4 separate regions of the Homo sapiens genome follow, and all the other regions are linked to region 3. Evidence: promoter capture Hi-C in 16 types of primary human blood cells and fetal thymus (Javierre and others, 2016). All regions are on one chromosome and are shown on one strand. Each heading gives the region's core, a stretch centred on a gene start or on the middle of the fragment in contact. The rest is flanking DNA. Distances are from core to core; before and after follow the strand shown.

Evidence for each region. The method cuts DNA at HindIII sites, captures the fragments that hold promoters and counts their contacts. A CHiCAGO score of 5 or more calls a contact.
Region 1: a fragment that was not itself captured here is called in contact with the fragment with the promoter of MMGT1 in region 3 in 1 of 17 cell types (neutrophils); the score reaches 5.0 in neutrophils.
Region 2: a contact is called between the fragment with the promoter of HPRT1 here and the fragment with the promoter of MMGT1 in region 3, in 2 of 17 cell types (monocytes and neutrophils). The highest score is 6.2, in monocytes.
Region 4: a contact is called between a fragment that was not itself captured here and the fragment with the promoter of MMGT1 in region 3, in 4 of 17 cell types (total CD8 T cells, total B cells, naive CD4 T cells and 1 more). The highest score is 7.7, in total CD8 T cells.

The regions. Positions count from the first base shown.
Region 1 is chrX:134,770,203-134,773,430 of GRCh38, forward strand. PABIR2 (PABIR family member 2) reads right to left here. Exons shown (of 10, transcript NM_001387468.1): 10 at 1-2,081. The coding sequence ends at 1,937. Among named protein-coding and RNA genes, the nearest start is that of PABIR2, 25 kb to the right of the region's middle. The HindIII fragment of the contact is 2,030 bases long and covers 700-2,729 here.
Region 2 is chrX:134,458,616-134,461,861 of GRCh38, forward strand. HPRT1 (hypoxanthine phosphoribosyltransferase 1) reads left to right here and starts at 1,550. Exons shown (of 9, transcript NM_000194.3): 1 at 1,550-1,723. The coding sequence starts at 1,697. RefSeq lists silencers at 1,422-1,541, 1,642-1,821. The HindIII fragment of the contact is 6,801 bases long and covers 1-3,246 here.
Region 3 is chrX:135,972,457-135,975,496 of GRCh38, forward strand. MMGT1 (membrane magnesium transporter 1) reads right to left here and starts at 1,532. Exons shown (of 4, transcript NM_173470.3): 1 at 1,141-1,532. The coding sequence starts at 1,219. It also overlaps a transcript of SLC9A6 not described here. RefSeq lists an enhancer at 1,081-1,610 and a silencer at 1,621-1,730. The HindIII fragment of the contact is 2,640 bases long and covers 176-2,815 here.
Region 4 is chrX:134,801,263-134,804,467 of GRCh38, forward strand. It overlaps a transcript of PABIR3 not described here. Among named protein-coding and RNA genes, the nearest start is that of PABIR3, 4.4 kb to the right of the region's middle. The HindIII fragment of the contact is 7,504 bases long and covers 1-3,205 here.

The sequences.
Region 1 (3,228 bases), core at 465-2,964, 1.2 Mb before region 3:
TTATAGAGGCAGAACATTTTGACATGATCTTTTACAAACAGAATAGATACACTGCATACCATCGAAGAATTTTTTCTTTATAATGGCATACTAGGGGACAAGCTTCATAATAGATTTATGTTACGTTTGAAGAAGTAGAGACTTTTCCCAGATGAGAGCAATACAAGAAATAAAGCCATTAATGGCTGTTATGGTTACAATTTAAAATAAAGGACACATCGGATGCTGTAACAGAAGTACTGCACGCTAAGTGATGCTCTCTTGTAATTGAAAGAGAATGGGTTTCCCTTCAAACCATATGCTATTACTAGTCTCTGAGTGCCTTCAAAGCACATACTCTTCCTTTAAAATCCAAGGATCCTTGCCTTCAAAAGACACAAATGCAGTAGTTTTCATTTCTTACATTCACTTAAAAATGGATTATGATTCCAGCAGGCAAATCTGCATATTAAATATAGACAACCCAACCACAGTATCTGAACGTTAAAAGAAATCTATCACGACAGACATTTTACCTAGTTATAAATAACGTAACAATAGATCACACTCAGATTTCTTAAACAGCTCACTCAGGAGTTTCCTCTTTTAAAAATTAAATAACTTATGGTACCTCACACTTATAGCACATACACAGTTCATAGCTGAAACAGCTTCTTAAAAGCAGAATGCACAATCACATTGACTTTTTCAGCTTCTAAAAGCTTCTTTGTAGATATTAAACTGCCCTCACTACAAGGCAGTATGAACAAGAACTGGATTCTGATTCTGGTGGCAACACAATAACTATAAGGCAGTAAGAACAAGAACTGGATTCTGATTCTGGCAGCAACACAATAACTAAAACACCATTCACCACATGACAAAACAAACAAATCCAATGACAAAAAGGAATCGGAAAAAAAGCAGCAACAGAAACAGTATGTGGCAATCATTCACATAAGGCCCCTCTTCCACCATACCTTATGATATACATCCCTTATAGCATGACAATGTACCCCAAGGCACCTGAGGCCTCATAATACCACTCGAGACACTGACAGCTCCATGGACGCTTTTGTACACAGTGGTTTGTGTGTAAATAACTATTCATTCATTTGTAGATGCTCCACACATCTGGTCAAGGCAGGAATTTCTTCTCCTTGATAACACCACCTAGAAATATCAACAATATTTTATATATTCCTTAGGGCAACAGGTTTGAGGAGAAATATATCAACTGTGGTAGCAAAGTCATAAGAACCTGTGATGACTAATCCAAGCATCCTGTAAGTCCGTTTACATTCTCAGCACTAAAATCAATGCTCACTTCACACACCCCAACAGCAAAGAAGCAATAAGAGTAATGAAAGCAACTACGTATTTCTTCCCCTCTGTGAGAAATGGCATAAGCGGCTCAAACAGGAAAGGGAAACAAAATAATGTACTTGAAGCTGATGCAGAAAAATAAAAATTTAATATAATTAAAAGCAATTTATATATCATCATGAAATAAAGAGAGATTTGAAACTATGTAGTCAACAGAGGACAAAAAAAAATCTCTCAAGCAAGAGAATTTCTGATCAAATCTGTCATATCACTGCTGCGGAAAAGGACCATTAAAGGCAATACACATCAGTGCCTTTCTTAAATGTATAGACTCAAAATAGGTGTTTTTTGAGGCACTAAGAAAAAAGATTCCTCTAAGCAATCAAAAATCAGCATTTGAGATTTAATCACTAAATCCAAAATGAGATCAGCAAAACCAGATACTAGTAAGGTCACTAGGCTCACAAAATTGAACTTTGGAGAAGAGAGATGCCAAAGAGTAATAATAGCATCAGAATGTGTGAAATCTGTAAAACTTTAATCCTCATTATGGATCAAAGTTCTCTGCGTTCCCCACTAAACATTTTATGTAGGAAACAGCAGTTAAAACGTTGAATCAGAAATGGTTAAGTCACTTGGGTGAGAGATCATCCATCAAGATGAACGAAGAGCATGAATTGGAGCATGCTACTGGAGACTCTGCGGTAGCGCTGCCTTTAGCCAGCGGGTCTGAGGATAAGCCACTGCTGCTACTACTGCCATCCAAAATATCTGAACTGAAGACAAAGCAAAAAGAATTATAAGCAAATGCAACTATCAGGGTAAACATAACATGCAATGACACAGTTTCAAGAGCTCACAAATCAGTAAATCACTTGTAAATAATAAAAAAGCATAAAGCCACAGCAATGAACTACATAATATACTACATTATAAAGCCACAGAAATCCAAAGTAAGACTCTTCGAGGTCCTGTATCATTTGATTGTCCCCCCTAGAGGCACCAGACCGCCTAACCTACAATAAACGTTCCTCGTGACATGCCATGGTTTTCGGGAGGGAGTTCCTTCACTTCACTTCAGCTCAAGAAATTTCTATTCTTATGTTTACCTTCCCATCAGGCTTGGAGCAAGAGGAATGGTTACTTATTGAGGTAACCATACTCGGACTATCAGAGGTGTTCGATCAAGTACACTGCCTCATAGTTCCTCTACTCTAAAACAAAGTCTTTCAACTCCCCTAGAGTTATCACTTCCCCATTCCCAAAGGGCCTTCAATTCAAACACATTTTTTAAATGATTTCCCCCTCCAATTCTATGCCATTTATAATTCCTTACACTATTTCCTTTCTTCTTGCTTTCAAAACCCAAAGGTCTATTTCTAGAAGAGTCCCTTTCTTTGATCCCTTCAGTTATTCTCCAGTTAAGCTTCTACAATGAATAATCTACACTTGTGGTCTCAATACCCGTTGTCTATTGCCTCTTTATCCTGACAACTGGCTCCTGTTCCTATCCTTCCAGTAAAACTCCAGATCTGGACATCAAGAACCTCTATACCCAGCCCAGGGATTCCTTCCCTATCCAGCCTGGGGGCTCACTGTTCCCCAACCATCAACCTGGCCTGACTCATGAATCTGGCTCCATACTTCAGCAAGGAACTGAGAGCCTTTACAGTCTGGCATCAAGCTGCCTTTCTGGCTTTGGTTTCCATCAATCCAGTAATAAGCTCTATGCTTTATATTTGCCCTGAATTCAATCATTCACTTATTCTAATATTTACTGAGTGCCTGCCAAGTGCAGGAAGCACACTAGATATTAGAAATACAATGGTGTTTAAAACAGACGTGGTCCCAGCCCTCATTGAATTTACAGTATTGTGCAGGAGACAGACATTTAAATAATCATGCTAATAAATATATAATTAT
Region 2 (3,246 bases), core at 300-2,799, 1.5 Mb before region 3:
TTACATAAATGATTTTTAGAATTCTCGTAAAACTCTTCATGGCAGTAGTTATTATTCTCTCTCTCTCTCTTTTTCTTTTTTCTTGAGACAGGATATTTCTCTGTTGCCCAGGCTGGAGTGCAGTGGCACAGTCTTGGCTCACTGCAGCCTGGACCTCCTGGGCTCAAGCCATCCTCCCACCTCAGCCTCCCAAGTAGCTGGGGCTACAGGCACATGGCCACCAGGCCCAGATAATTTTTCATTTTTGTAGAGACTGAGTCTCACCATGTTACCCAGGTTTATTATTCTCATTTTTTAGATGAAGAGACTGAGGTCCAGAGAAGCTCAATGACTTGCCTAGTTTTACAAATCTCCTGCCATCACATACCCCTCAGCGTCCTTAATAAGAGGGAGGCCACCAACTATGTGCTGGGCACTGTGGTGGATGCTGGAGCTATAGGGTTGAGTATATAAGAAATGGTGTTGCTGGAGCAACTGTTGCTTGCTTACCTGACCTATCTGAGAATTAATTAGCAGGGGAACATATTTTTGTTTTCAGATTCAATATAAGAACTTGTGTGGGCAAAAATAAAGATCAGTAGTAATAACAGTAGTTCCCATTTGCTGACTGTACTGTCCTAAGTGCATATATATATACATACACACACGCATACCTATACTCCTCTAATACTCAAAATGATCCTGTTTATGTATTGTTAATATGCTCATTTTATTTTTAAATTTTTATTTATTTTTATTTTTATTTATTTTTGAGACGGAGTCTCATTCTGTCGCGGAGGCTGAAGTGCAGTGGTGCGATCTCAGCTCAGTGCGACCTCCGCCTCCCGGGTTCAAGTGATTCTCCTGCCTCAGCCTCCGGACTAGCTGGGATTACAGGCGCCCGCCTCCACGCCCAGCTAATTTTTGTATTTTTAGTAGAGATGGGGTTTCGCCATGTTGGCCAGGCTGGTCTCGTACTCCTGACCTTGAGTGATCCACCTGCCTCGGCCTCCCAAAGTGCTGGGATTACAGGCATGAGCCACCGCGCCGGGCTAATATGCTCATTTTAGTGAGGCAAAAATAGAGGCTCAGAGTCTGATTTGTACAAAACTACAGAGCAGTTAAGTGTCCTCTCAGATGTGTACCCTGATCTGGGTGACTCTAGGACTCTAGGTCTCAACTGTTACAACCAGTTAAGGGTTTGGGGAAGCACTGGGCCAAGAGTCAGGAAAATGGAAGCCACAGGTAGTGCAAGGTCTTGGGAATGGGACGTCTGGTCCAAGGATTCACGCGATGACTGGAACCCGAAGAGCCGGGGCCCGGTTTACGGCCGCCATGAAGCAACGCGCGCCGGTAGGTTTGGGAATCAGGGAGCCCTCTGAATAGGAGACTGAGTTGGGAGGGAAAGGGGCTTCGCTGGGGGAGCCTCGGCTTCTTCTGGGAGAAAATTCCCACGGCTACCTAGTGAGCCTGCAAACTGGTAGGCGCCGGCGTAGGCGCGCGGGCGGGGCCGGGGGCGGGGCCTGCGGGGCGTGGCGGGGCGGGCAGAGGGCGGGGCCTGCTTCTCCTCAGCTTCAGGCGGCTGCGACGAGCCCTCAGGCGAACCTCTCGGCTTTCCCGCGCGGCGCCGCCTCTTGCTGCGCCTCCGCCTCCTCCTCTGCTCCGCCACCGGCTTCCTCCTCCTGAGCAGTCAGCCCGCGCGCCGGCCGGCTCCGTTATGGCGACCCGCAGCCCTGGCGTCGTGGTGAGCAGCTCGGCCTGCCGGCCCTGGCCGGTTCAGGCCCACGCGGCAGGTGGCGGCCGGGCCCTGAGGCGCGGGATCCGCAGTGCGGGCTCGGGCGGCCGGGCCCAGGGAACCCCGCAGGCGGGGGCGGCCAGTTTCCCGGGTTCGGCTTTACGTCACGCGAGGGCGGCAGGGAGGACGGAATGGCGGGGTTTGGGGTGGGTCCCTCCTCGGGGGAGCCCTGGGAAAAGAGGACTGCGTGTGGGAAGAGAAGGTGGAAATGGCGTTTTGGTTGACATGTGCCGCCTGCGAGCGTGCTGCGGGGAGGGGCCGAGGGCAGATTCGGGAATGATGGCGCGGGGTGGGGGCGTGGGGGCTTTCTCGGGAGAGGCCCTTCCCTGGAAGTTTGGGGTGCGATGGTGAGGTTCTCGGGGCACCTCTGGAGGGGCCTCGGCACGGAAAGCGACCACCTGGGAGGGCGTGTGGGGACCAGGTTTTGCCTTTAGTTTTGCACACACTGTAGTTCATCTTTATGGAGATGCTCATGGCCTCATTGAAGCCCCACTACAGCTCTGGTAGCGGTAACCATGCGTATTTGACACACGAAGGAACTAGGGAAAAGGCATTAGGTCATTTCAAGCCGAAATTCACATGTGCTAGAATCCAGATTCCATGCTGACCGATGCCCCAGGATATAGAAAATGAGAATCTGGTCCTTACCTTCAAGAACATTCTTAACCGTAATCAGCCTCTGGTATCTTAGCTCCACCCTCACTGGTTTTTTCTTGTTTGTTGAACCGGCCAAGCTGCTGGCCTCCCTCCTCAACCGTTCTGATCATGCTTGCTAAAATAGTCAAAACCCCGGCCAGTTAAATATGCTTTAGCCTGCTTTATTATGATTATTTTTGTTGTTTTGGCAATGACCTGGTTACCTGTTGTTTCTCCCACTAAAACTTTTTAAGGGCAGGAATCACCGCCGTAACTCTAGCACTTAGCACAGTACTTGGCTTGTAAGAGGTCCTCGATGATGGTTTGTTGAATGAATACATTAAATAATTAACCACTTGAACCCTAAGAAAGAAGCGATTCTATTTCATATTAGGCATTGTAATGACTTAAGGTAAAGAGCAGTGCTATTAACGGAGTCTAACTGGGAATCCAGCTTGTTTGGGCTATTTACTAGTTGTGTGGCTGTGGGCAACTTACTTCACCTCTCTGGGCTTAAGTCATTTTATGTATATCTGAGGTGCTGGCTACCTCTTGGAGTTATTGAGAGGATTATAAGACAGTCTATGTGAATCAGCAACCCTTGCATGGCCCCTGGCGGGGAACAGTAATAATAGCCATCATCATGTTTACTTACATAGTCCTAATTAGTCTTCAAAACAGCCCTGTAGCAATGGTATGATTATTACCATTTTACAGATGAGGAACCTTTGAAGCCTCAGAGAGGCTAACAGACATACCCTAGGTCATACAGTTATTAAGAGAAGGAGCTCTGTCTCGAACCTAGCTCTCTCTCTCTCGAGTAATACCAGTTAAAA
Region 3 (3,040 bases), core at 282-2,781:
TGACTAATCTCCTATCTGGTTCAATTCCTAGCTAGCTTGCTAGTTTGCATGAAGCCTCGCCTGCTTCTAACACTACCTTTAACCAGGAATTTCCTCATCTGTAAAATGAAGGGGTTGGACTTCAGTGAACTCCAAAGGCCCTTCTCGCCCCACAATCATATAATTCTACAGTTAAAGCTTACTGTAGAAAATGACACAGTACTCCAGTGTATCCTAATCTCTTCCAGGACAGTGTTTCTCAAACTAATGCGCATACAAATCACCCTGGGATCTTATTAAAACCCAGATTCTGATTGAACAGGTCTGGCCTGAGTATCTTCTAATTACCTGCCAGGTGGTGCTCATGATGCTGGTCTGTTGATCACACTGTAAGCAGCAAGGATCTAGGATACTTTCCTTAACCTCCCAGTTCCCCCAAAATATGACTGTCCCTGCTTCCATGCATCCTTATATACTTTTAGCATATCACTTTATTGTAACTACTTCTTGATCCACTTGTTTTCCTTTAGACTTTGAACTGGCTCAGGGCATCACTGTATCTCTAGCACCTAAACACAGCGCAATTTCAAACAGCGACCCAAAACTGAATTTCATAACGCAGTGTAGCACAAATCTTTTGCCCAACGTCACACAGATGTAGCGGTAATGCAAGTTTTTAACAACCAGTCCTTTAGACTCCCAGTCCAGTGCTCTTTCTCCTGTACCACAGTGCCTCCCTGAGGCAATCGGTCACTTAACTACTCAGTCTCTGCCTGGACAGCCCAAGAGTGCCCAAGATGTTGTCCACTTGGTTGTCGTGGGACCATGAGCAACCAGAGTCCTCAATCTCACAACTGTGCCTGATCTGCCCCATGCTGGATCTGACATCACTTGTCCTGGATTCCTGGAGACTCCTATTCTGAACCCTCTCCCAGACACCTCCTTCCAACCTTCCTGCAATTTCAGGTGCCACACTCTCTCCAAATTCAAACTCCGAACCTTCCACTGGGAACTCCTGCACTGATTTTCTTAGTCACCCCAAACTGTAAGGTCTCAAAGGACCATTAATCTGACACTCGGTCCGATGGTCCCTTAGAAGTGCGCCCACACACCGCCCCTAGGGTTCCACACCGAAGCGGTCCCCGTGCCCCAGGCACTTACGCTGCGCAGCGGAAAAGGCGGCGTGGGCTAGGGCAAAGAGACCGATGCCCACCAGCCCCTTCCACAGCGACGGCGCCATGATGCCGAAGGAGCAGCAGCCCAGCAAAAGAAGCGAAGGACGGCGGAGCTGTTTCTTCTTCCACCGGCGGGTGTCCGCGCGCCGCAGAAAGATGACGTCACTGAAGTCCTGAGCGCAAAGTGTCTCAGTGGTGGAAAAGCCAGAGGGCTGTGAGAAAACGGAAACAGGAATGCCGGGAAGAAGCAGAAAGCTACACGGAAAAAGGTCCGCGAGAACCCACGAACCTGCGCTATGGAGGCCTCTCTAGGAGGGCCGGAGCCCAACGGAGTCATAAACGAAGAGGCGAAAGCGGGAGCTACGGGGAAGCGAAGAGGAAGGGCGCCGGCAAATGGGGGCAGGGCCAGTGGCGAGAACAGGGTGGGGCAGAGGGACGGGGGCCTGCGTAGAGAACGTGTGGGGGCGAGGGGCGGGGTAGGCAGACGGGCGGGGTGGGGAAGACGCGCGGGGCCCGCACGAGGGTGGGTGTAGCCGAGGGGCGGGGCCAGTGGGTGGGTGGGTGGGCGTAGCCGGGGGGGGGGGGCCCTGGTGGGTGCGGTCGAGTGGCGGGGCCTGCGGGGAGGATGGGTGGGGCCGAGGGGCGGGGAGGAGGTGGGGCCGAGGGGCGGGGAGGAGGTGGGGCCGAGGGGCGGGGAGGAGGTGGGGCCGAGGGCGGGGCCTACGGGAGGATGGGTGGGGCGTAGGGGGCGGGGCGGAGGGGACGGAGAGTGGGTGAGGGCCGAGGGGGCGGGGAGGAGGTGGGACCGAGGGGCGGGGAGGAGGTGGGACCGAGGGGGCGCGGAGGAGTGGGACCGAGGGGGCGGGGAGGAGGTGGGGCCGAGGGGCGGGAGGAGGTGGGGCCGAGGGGCGGGGCTGGGGGCGTTGGGGAAAGGCGGTAGGTGCTGGATATAGACCCCTGACAGTTGTGTTTTGTGGGTTGGTTGGTTTTGGCTTTTTGTGAAACTGTGCCTTTTGTTTTCTGTAGGCCTTTCCTGTGCTTCAGCTCCCTGGAAACTGGCACTGCAGAAGGAGGCAAGGGTGTTAAAACGAGGAGGCAGTGTCAGGACAAAATCCCAGGATCTGGAACCCCAAATACTTGGCTCGCGGGAAGTGCTCAGTAAACCATTTTAAGGTCCTGGAGAAAGATTCGCGCAAAAAGAGGTGTAGCGCGGGGGGAGTGTTTTGTCGTGAAAAGAACCAGCTTACATTAAGGAAGAAATGAAAGAGGAAATTTTAAAATGCTAATAACGCAGCCTTCTTGCCTTGTCTCTATCTCTGATCCGGGTAAAATGTATACTCCTCTGCCCATTTTTCTTTGTCTTCATCTCCTGAAATGTAGACATTTAATAGTGAGCTTCTCCCCTTGACCTCATCACTCTGCTGTCCCCTGGGGAGCTCACCCATTCATTCCCACCGCTTCAGCCAGCAAAGGTATTACAGTGATTCCAAATCGACATCTCTATCACAAATATCTCTCCTTAGCTCCAGGGCTGCATTTCTGACTACCAGATAGGCATTTATTTCCTGTGGCACTTAAAACGTAATATGGCTAAAATGGAATTCATCCTTTTTTTCCAAATTCTGCACCAGTTCCTCCAGTGACCCCTGACTGAGTGGCAAAGCTTTGTAAACTGCATATCACAAGGTAAATGCAAAGTATGATCACCATTCTTTTCCTTTAACCCAATCAGAATTCTACGTTTTAGTTGCATCAATTTGCTTTTGCTCAAAGATGCGTCCTATCCTGACCACCCCTTTTAAATGTGCAAAATTCCTATTCCTGATCCCCTTATTCTGTTCTACTTTTTATATCACCTTCTAACATACTATATAATTTAACTATTT
Region 4 (3,205 bases), core at 615-3,114, 1.2 Mb before region 3:
ATAGTAATTTTCCAGGTTTTTACCACATAAGCAAAAGGTATTTCCAGAAAGGGGTAGAGGGGGCATCTCCATGATAGGCAGCATTTTAACTCAAAAGGGAAGTTTATAATACTTGCCACCTCCAGAGTTGCCCTTGGTTTTGTTTTGTTGATGACTCATGTTTGATCTGGAAGCTAGCCAAAGCAGAAAGCCCCCATTCAGCTTAAGGCCTGATGATCATCAGGGGTTGGGATTATGTCCCAGGGACCCTTTGGCCCTCCAGGGCAGTCCCATTTCCAGTGGCCGAGCTTGTGGCAGAGGGGGCAAGCCATGCGGGGGTTTTTCGTCATTCATGCCATAGGGCCAGTTTGCCTTCCAGTGGCCTGGGCTTCTGCACTGATGGCAGTTATCTGGAGGAGTATCCTTAGGGCAGCCTGGAATGGAGGCTGGGGGCTTGCAAAGCAGCCAACAGTTGAGCCTGCTTCTTGTCCCTGCATTTTTCTTTCTCCTTAGCCCTGTCCTTATCCTGCTCTTGGTTATAAAAGACTGAGGAGACTGATTTGAGGTTTTCTGCATAGGGGCCATGCTGTATTACAAAAGAAAATTCGACTTTTTTTTTTTTTTTAATCTGAGGGTTACATTTGTCTCAGCGTTTTGGGATGCAACTCATAGGTGAGTCTGACGGAATAGAGGAGGTTTGTCCCATGGTGGGACTGGAAAACGATGAGCTGCCGGGGACTAACGTCTGCTGCAGACACGAACCACACTCTCTCGCCGCCCCCACCCCCCTGCCCCACCAGGAAGAGGGCTCAACTCACATCTGCTGAGGGATTCCAGTGCACTTTCTTTTCTTTTCTTTTGAGATGGAATCTCGCTTTGTCGCCCAGGCTGGAGTGCAGTGGTGGGATCTCGGCTCACTGCAACCTCCGCCTCCCAGGTTCAAGCGATTCTCCTGTGTCAGCCTCCCAGGTAGCTGGGATTACAGGCATGCACCACTACGTCCAGCTAATTTTTTGTATTTTTAGTAGAGATGGGGTTTCGCCATGTTGGCCAGGCTGGTCTTGAACTCCTGACCTCAGGTGATCCACCCACCTCGGCCTCCCAAAGTGCTGGGATTACAGGCATGAGCCACCGTGCCCGGCCTCAAGTGCACTCTCTAAAGGGGCATCCCACCTATTAGAAAGGACATCTCAGCGCTGGGGCCTTACGCTGGATGGTTAGCCCCGGTACAAGGAAAAAGGGTAAAGGAAGAACTCAGCCTGGTCCCATCCCAGGAGAGAGGACCAGAATGGGGAGACTCACTGCTCTGAGGCTGCTTGCTATCACCTAATTTGGGAACGTCCAGAGCAGGAGGTCTGGCTGTTTTTGCAGGACTATTTAGAGTAAGAAAGAGGGGCTCTGAGCTCCCCAAAACATATGTGCCAATTGCACTACATAGGGATTGCAGACCTTTTCGCCAGAAGAGATAGGAGAGGGCCTTCTTCCCTTCTAGGCAAGGCAGCCAAACCTGTTCACACCCGCTGGCCTTGAGGCCACACCAGGAAATGGCCCTGACCAGTTGCCATCAATTGCCAGAGGGATACTAGAATTTGTCCTCTGGAAGACTGAAAAGTAAAGCAAATTCTGAAGTCTCACAGAATCGTGGGACAGCAGTCTGGTGTCTTTCCACCAGGACCTTCTGGTTCCCTGGGGAGCAGCCCCGGCCAGGGACTTAAAATTATCTCAGGGTTTTGACACTGTCCAACGAGAGGTTGGAATTGGAGGAAAGGGAGAAAGTAGGGGAGAGGCCCATACGAACTACCAAAATGTTGCAGGTGCAGCTGGCCAGTGGCGCAGGTGGTAAAGGAATTGACCAAGACAGTTGTAGGTAAAGAAAGGCAGATTTACTAGAGAAGGTATGGAAGTATGTTGCAAGGAGGCAAAGGGCAGCACTGCAGAGGAGGAGCTGTCTGCAAAGAGGCAGGGGCTGGAGGGAGCTGGAGGGGGCTGCATGTGGAAACAAGTCATGCTGCTGGGGCCACATGTGGAAGGAGGTCTTTGTGCCCTAGGTCTCTCAGAACAATTTTTCATTGTTCTTCCCCACCTGGGGCCCCTTTCTCATTGTTTCTTACTTATCTTATCAGGACTCCACAAACTCTTTTAATCCTCACCACTTGAATGGCCCTGGGGAAGAGAAGGCCATTGCATTGAAATGTAATAGTTCTGAAATTGCTTTCAAAATTCAGCCAGAAATAATAATTTTGCCTGCCTCTTTTCAATTATCCCATACTAAACTTGCCAAGGCCAATTATCATTTTATTCCTCACTGTTTATGCTTTCTGCCTGCAGTATGAGGGATTTGTAAGTACTTTTAGATAGTTTCCTTTAAATTGCCTGTATTTTTCTCCCAGCTAGATTAGAAACAACAACCTCTGTTTTTGAGCAACTTAGGTATCTCTTTTTATCTCAAGGTCTCAGCAACCCTTAAGGCCAGCCCCACCTCCTACTCCCTGCTCAAAAGAAATTATAATACATTCTTTTGTTCACAATAGCTACTAAACAATCATTTGTTGACCACATGCATGCACTGACCTCAGGAGCTTAACAATTTAGGAGAACGCGAGGAGAATAATGCTACTTTGGCCATCATTTCTAGGTTTTATTAACATCATTCTTGCCTGCTAGTTTTTTTTTTTTTTTTAACCTTTCATGTAAATCTTTTGGGAAGGTTTGGGGTGTTTGTGGTTTGTAGATTTGGGTTTGACTTGTATTTGACTTGCTCTTGTGGTAACTAAAGGTTACAACGTAGCTTCAAGGTTGTCATGACAACTGGTAAAATAAAGAGCTGATTATCACATGTTTGTTGGTTCCCTTTTATAGGTGAGGGCCTGGGACAGACGCAGCAGACTGGGATATGCAAAGAGAGGAGTAGCCTAATTGTCAAGTCTAGATCTAACAAAAGCAGTGTCCCAAGATCATGGCATATTTCCCTGGAACTGGAAGGACTGATCAAGAAACACAGCTAGGTTGGTATAATAATGTGTGCGTAGAAATGGGGAGAAGTAAAAACAATTTCTTTAATGTTGTGTTTGCCATTGTAGCATATAGAATTCTTGCTGTTTTTGTATTACTTGTTCCTTTTGATATTCCAATTTGTGTATGTACTATGAGTCCTATTTATATCTTTACAGGTTTGGGGTTCCTGACATGTAGCTGTTCTTTTGTAAAAGAGAGCTCCTTCTCTTTG